Regions from separate parts of the Homo sapiens genome. Here region 2 is linked to region 1. The links are contacts of gene promoters, found by promoter capture Hi-C in blood cells and fetal thymus (Javierre and others, 2016). All regions are on one chromosome and are shown on one strand. The core of a region is centred on a gene start or on the middle of the fragment in contact, and the rest is flanking DNA. Distances in the headings are between cores, read along the strand shown.

Region 1 (3,064 bases), core at 141-2,640:
GTGGCACAATCTCGCACTCACTACAACCTCTGCCTCCCGGGTCCTAGCAATTCTCCTGTGTCAGCCTCCCGAGTAGCTGGGGTTACAGGCGCCCGCCACTACGCCCGGCTAATTTTTTGTATTTTTAGTAGAGACAGCGTTTCACCGTGTTAGCCAGGATGGTCTCCATCTCCTGACCTCATGATCCGCCCGCCTTGGCCTCCAAAAGTGCTGGGATTACAGGCGTGAGCCACCGCGCCCAGCCTTTTTTTTTTTTTTCTTGGAGACGGAGTCTCCCTGTCACCCGGGCTGGGGTGCAATGGCTTGATCATGGCTCACTGCAACCTCGGCCACCCTGGCTCAAGCGATTCTCCTGCCTCAGCCTGCCGAGTAGCTGGGATTACAGGCGTCCGCCACCACGCCCAGCTAGTTTTTGTATTTTTAGTGGAGAAGGAGTTTCACCATGTTGGCCAGGCTGGTCTTGAACTCCTGATCTCAGGTAGTCCACCCGCCTAGGCCTCCCAAAGTGCTGGGATTACAGGCGTGAGCCACCGTGCCCGGCCAAAATCATTTGCTTACTGAATGATACGGAAAATATGAGTGAACAAAAAAAGTATTGAAAAAGATGAGTTGATGGCAAAGGGAGGGAATTAATGTTTAGTGAACACTTAATTGGCAAGTAATGTTCAGAGCATTATATAAATTGTCTCATTTAATCTAACAAGAACCTTTTGAGGTAAATACGTTATCCCAATTTATAGAGGAGGAAACTAAGATTTATAAGGATCTCATCAATCAGAGAACTCTTAAGTGGCACCACTGGACTTTGAAAGGAAGTCTGCCTGATGGACTCTGAAGCTCATCCTCTCTCTATCCTCCTAATGCATATAATGACGCATTTGTTATCTACTGACTTTTATAAAATAAACAAGGAGGCTTATGCGATTGTACAGCCCGAGTTCGCAGGAGATATGTGACCACTTTTGATCTGATTCCGGAAGCAAATTCACTTTAACAGTGAGGTGCCGTGATCTTTATGTCATTAGCGCATATGATATGGGTATCATTTGTTGTGAAAGACACTAACCCATGATGTTTTTGTTTACGTATATCTGTAAATGTATCAATTCTGTAGTTGGTTAATTTTTAGTTACGAAAAAATGAACCAAGATGTAGTCAAGATTTGGCTTAAATGTTGAACGCATAATCACCAAAGAAAATTAAATAATGAGCTTTGTGACACCTTTCAGTTCGCCAACAGACTGATAAAACCAGTACAAAGGGGGAGGGCCGGGACCGAGGGGGCGGGACGGTGAGAAACGGGAATCGAGCAAGCGCAGAAACAAACAGATGTTAATGGAGGCGTGAAGGCTACTGCGCTCTCACTTTCCGAACTGTCGTAAAGAGCCCTAGTGTCGTGCTCTCCTCGGTAGGGGAGGAATTGGTTAGGCGGCGGCGGCGGCGAAGCGGCGGCGGCGGCTGTAGGGGAGCAGCGGCAGTGGCGGCGACGGCGAGGAGGTGTTCGGTTTGCGCAGCGTAGAAACGCCCGCAGCTTCAGAGAAGGAGTTCTTGTGGGACCAAATTAGGCATTCTGAACCCACGCCGGCTTAGCTGGGCCGAGTCCAGGCGCTGCCGCACGTACAGTTTTGGTGGCGGTGACAGACACTGTTCTTGACTCTAGGGGCCTATTAGGCCGACGTCTGAGGCGCAGATCGCTGGCTCTCGACGCATTACTCTTTACGCCTTACATTTCTGTCTTCCTTCCTGGGTCAGTGATTCCCGGACCCTGGAAGAGAAGAGGGTGGCTAATGATTAAGGTGAGGGGAACGGGGGGGGAGGGGATCCATTGGAGGCCGCGCGTGCGCGCAACGGGGGAGGGGCCGGCCTGGAGGGGAGAAAGAGGAAGGGCTGCGGCCGCGGAAGGCTGGGGTCGGTGACCGGCCGGTTATCTCTGGCTCGGTGGTGACTTAGGGTCTGGGTCTCCGCAGACGATTTGTGTTTGGGCAAGGCATTCGTCTACCGACACACCCACAGCCTACAGTGAGGGAGTGTGGGTGAGGGGATTTCTCTCCCACTTCCGACTCTCCCTAGAGTCTCAGGATGGGGGCTGAGGACCGAGGCGTGGGAGTGCGATTTGACAATGGAGTGATGAAGGTAACCCGGACCCGGGGAGTTGGAGGGCGCTAAGTCAGCCCTGACGGCTAGGGAGTCGCCTGCTGCTGCTGTGATCAAGGAAACGTAGTCCGCGGAACAGCTGAAATACAGACGCGTCAGATTTTGTATGGAGTTGGCTTGTTGGTCATTTAAAAAGAAACTGATGTTTTTACTATTGTCCTTCGATAATTTATCAGAGTCAGTGTCAGTGCTATAGTGGGAATATCTGTTCAGTGCAGCAGAAATAGATTTGTTACAACAGTTCTTAAATAGGTTATAGTAGATAGATCTTTACAGATGGGTATTTCTCAACCTAAGTTTTGATTATTCAAAAAATACCAGAAAGTATGAGGTATTCATTTAATTTGTTCGTGTGTGTGTTGTGGGGTGACTCCATTGTGTTGTTGTAAGCTTTCCTGTTTCTTGATTTATGTGCGGCATTAATTTAGAATTCTCTTGAATGGTAAGATGCCAGCTGACATAGACTACGTTTTGTAGGATTTCCTGTAGCTTTTGAATGTGACTTAATCTAAACTTTATTTCATTTGGTATTTTATCTATAATTTTCTTGTTTTAGGGGCCTCTTGAACTAAAAAGAACAAACTGGGAAAAACATAAGCTAAGGTTCCATTTCCTTTCCCATTTTTGTTGTGTGTGTGTGTGATGGTTGTAAATGCTTGAATGTGATTTTGAGATTACCATACACAACTTCTGTAACGCTGGACTTAGCTTTATTACAGTAAAGATACATCTTTTGATAGTTTATTACTATATGTATTTTTGTAAAAATCTTCATGTCAGTATAAGCCACATTGTTTCACCCTAGTCTGGTTATATTTGTGAGGTGAAACAGATGGATAAGAAGGAAGCCCTTTTACTTTTACAATCATTTTAAATTGATTGTTTCTAAAGCCTTGATTTATCTTATTTT
Region 2 (3,310 bases), core at 25-2,524, 220 kb after region 1:
ATTTCACCAAACAAAAAACCAAAGCTGTCATGGCTACCCTCACCACAACATGTGGATTTCCAGATGTTGCATTTGGGATTTCATTGTGCACTGTCACAGGAAGGCTGTGCACGTCTTACTTGTTAGCTGACTTAGTGGGGAAGGCCTGCAGATGCTGATGAGTATCTGGCTGCCTGGATGGCCCAGCTGATCCGTAATCAGAACTCCAGCTCTCAAGTCCCCATACCCCTTCTTCAGTGGATCCATAGGGGTGTCTAAGTGACATACTCAATACTTTTCCTAAATTTTAGCTAAGCCAGAGCAAAAGTGAAGCCCCTCATGCTCAGTAATTCACTGCAATGAGCCATGTCATCTGAGGCTTTGCAGTTTCTCCCAGAAGTGGTATCAAAGTTGCACCAATCTGGCCAGAAACTCATGCTCAGATACTCTGTTTAACAAGAGATCAGCTGGGATGATGGATGAGACCAGGGGATTTCCATAGCACTAGGAAGTCCCCAAGACCACGACCTCAACTTAACTTTTTTATCATCAGCAGCCCCACACAGCCTGGCATCCAGTAGGCACCCAATACTGATGGGCTTTATAAGAACACCAAAAGTGCACTCTGGGCCTTGATTTATACTACCAGTAGGCATGGGGAGACAAGGAATGCCAGTCTGTGATTCCAGCAAGAGGCAAGACGAAAATCCATTTATTCAGCAGCTAATACATGTAGCAGGGTGATTCATTTTCCAAAAATATGCAGTAGTATGCTGAGATTTAGTGCTGGAGTGACTCCCAGCCGGCCCCTACCCTGCTGAAGCCCCAGCCGACTGTCCCAGGGTGGGTCCTGGCCAGGACTGGCACCAAGGCAGTGGAATCCTTTCAAAATAGGCCTCCAGCGCCATAGACCAGAAAGCAGGCGCCCAATTCTGGGACACTGGGAGATGGTGCAGGCAGCCACCAGTACGCAAAGCATAGAGCCCTATCCTTCCTGGCAGGGTCACGGTTCAGAAAACGTAACCTTATTTTCATCTGTAGTTAACAGAAGCATGTTTCCTCAGCATTCATATTAAAAATAAAAAACTAGTAATTCCAGGGATCTCGGTTAGCCTCTTAAGCATGTCAACTATTGATAATACTCTTAGCAAAACTAACTCCAGAAATCACTTGCTAGAGAAGCAGCCCTTCACTGCCTTAGTCTGAGCACCCACGGAAAGCACGTGTCGGAGACTCTGGCAAGGCCCGCGCAGCCGCAGTAGAGGGCCAGGGGGCGGGGCACGCGCACCTGCCGTAGAGTGCTGAAGGTCCTGCCAACGGCTCTCTTGGCGTCTCAACGTTCGGATCAGCAGCTTTTTTCCATTCTCTCTCTCCACTTCTTCAGTGAGCAGCCATGAGTTGGACTGTGCCTGTTGTGCGGGCCAGCCAGAGAGTGAGCTCGGTGGGAGCGAATTTCCTATGCCTGGGGATGGCCCTGTGTCCGCGTCAAGCAACGCGCATCCCGCTCAACGGCACCTGGCTCTTCACCCCCGTGAGCAAGATGGCGACTGTGAAGAGTGAGCTTATTGAGCGTTTCACTTCCGAGAAGCCCGTTCATCACAGTAAGGTCTCCATCATAGGAACTGGATCGGTGGGCATGGCCTGCGCTATCAGCATCTTATTAAAAGGCTTGAGTGATGAACTTGCCCTTGTGGATCTTGATGAAGACAAACTGAAGGGTGAGACGATGGATCTTCAACATGGCAGCCCTTTCACGAAAATGCCAAATATTGTTTGTAGCAAAGATTACTTTGTCACAGCAAACTCCAACCTAGTGATTATCACAGCAGGTGCACGCCAAGAAAAGGGAGAAACGCGCCTTAATTTAGTCCAGCGAAATGTGGCCATCTTCAAGTTAATGATTTCCAGTATTGTCCAGTACAGCCCCCACTGCAAACTGATTATTGTTTCCAATCCAGTGGATATCTTAACTTATGTAGCTTGGAAGTTGAGTGCATTTCCCAAAAACCGTATTATTGGAAGCGGCTGTAATCTGGATACTGCTCGTTTTCGTTTCTTGATTGGACAAAAGCTTGGTATCCATTCTGAAAGCTGCCATGGATGGATCCTCGGAGAGCATGGAGACTCAAGTGTTCCTGTGTGGAGTGGAGTGAACATAGCTGGTGTCCCTTTGAAGGATCTGAACTCTGATATAGGAACTGATAAAGATCCTGAGCAATGGAAAAATGTCCACAAAGAAGTGACTGCAACTGCCTATGAGATTATTAAAATGAAAGGTTATACTTCTTGGGCCATTGGCCTATCTGTGGCCGATTTAACAGAAAGTATTTTGAAGAATCTTAGGAGAATACATCCAGTTTCCACCATAATTAAGGGCCTCTATGGAATAGATGAAGAAGTATTCCTCAGTATTCCTTGTATCCTGGGAGAGAACGGTATTACCAACCTTATAAAGATAAAGCTGACCCCTGAAGAAGAGGCCCATCTGAAAAAAAGTGCAAAAACACTCTGGGAAATTCAGAATAAGCTTAAGCTTTAAAGTTGCCTAAAACTACCATTCCGAAATTATTGAAGAGATCATAGATACAGGATTATATAACGAAATTTTGAATAAACTTGAATTCCTAAAAGATGGAAACAGGAAAGTAGGTAGAGTGATTTTCCTATTTATTTAGTCCTCCAGCTCTTTTATTGAGCATCCACGTGCTGGACGATACTTATTTACAATTCCTAAGTATTTTTGGTACCTCTGATGTAGCAGCACTTGCCATGTTATATATATGTAGTTGGCATTTGGTTCCCAAAAAGTAGGATGTAGGTATTTATTGTGTTCTAGAAATTCCGACTCTTTTCATTAGATATATGCTATTTCTTTCATTCTTGCTGGTTTATACCTATGTTCATTTATATGCTGTAAAAAAGTAGTAGCTTCTTCTACAATGTAAAAATAAATGTACATACAAAAAAATGCAGTAGTATATACAATCTTTTGTTTTGCTTCCTTTGATAGTTAATAAATTCCGTTTGTTGAATCAATAAAATACGGCGAGCCATATGATTTGCTTCATGAGAAACCAGATCACAAACCCAAAGGCTTAAAACAGATAGACATTAAAATGGATATTGGCCATACCTTCCCAGCATAATGATGAATGATGAAGCCTTGGTTCCAACTGTTGAAGTGCTCATGACTCCCAATCTGCATCTGAAGTTTCTGGAGCAGCGTCTGATCTGCCCCCTCACCCACCGCATGCATCGTGGCGCACACGTCATCCAGGATGCTCATGATGCCAGGAGGGTTCTGATGGGAGCAAGAAGGCAAGGCCCTAGT

What was found. The method cuts DNA at HindIII sites, captures the fragments that hold promoters and counts their contacts. A CHiCAGO score of 5 or more calls a contact.
Region 2: the fragment with the promoter of LDHAL6B here is called in contact with the fragment with the promoter of RNF111 in region 1 in 2 of 17 cell types (M2 macrophages and endothelial precursors); the score reaches 6.9 in M2 macrophages.

What each region holds. Positions count from the first base shown.
Region 1 is chr15:58,986,273-58,989,336 of GRCh38, forward strand. RNF111 (ring finger protein 111) reads left to right here and starts at 1,391. Exons shown (of 14, transcript NM_017610.8): 1 at 1,391-1,796. RefSeq lists a silencer at 2,110-2,274. The HindIII fragment of the contact is 2,845 bases long and covers 1-2,542 here.
Region 2 is chr15:59,205,569-59,208,878 of GRCh38, forward strand. It overlaps LDHAL6B (lactate dehydrogenase A like 6B), which reads left to right and starts at 1,275. Exons shown (of 1, transcript NM_033195.3): 1 at 1,275-3,020. The coding sequence starts at 1,373. The coding sequence ends at 2,518. MYO1E (myosin IE) reads right to left here. Exons shown (of 28, transcript NM_004998.4): 14 at 3,113-3,280. The HindIII fragment of the contact is 11,888 bases long and covers 1-2,048 here.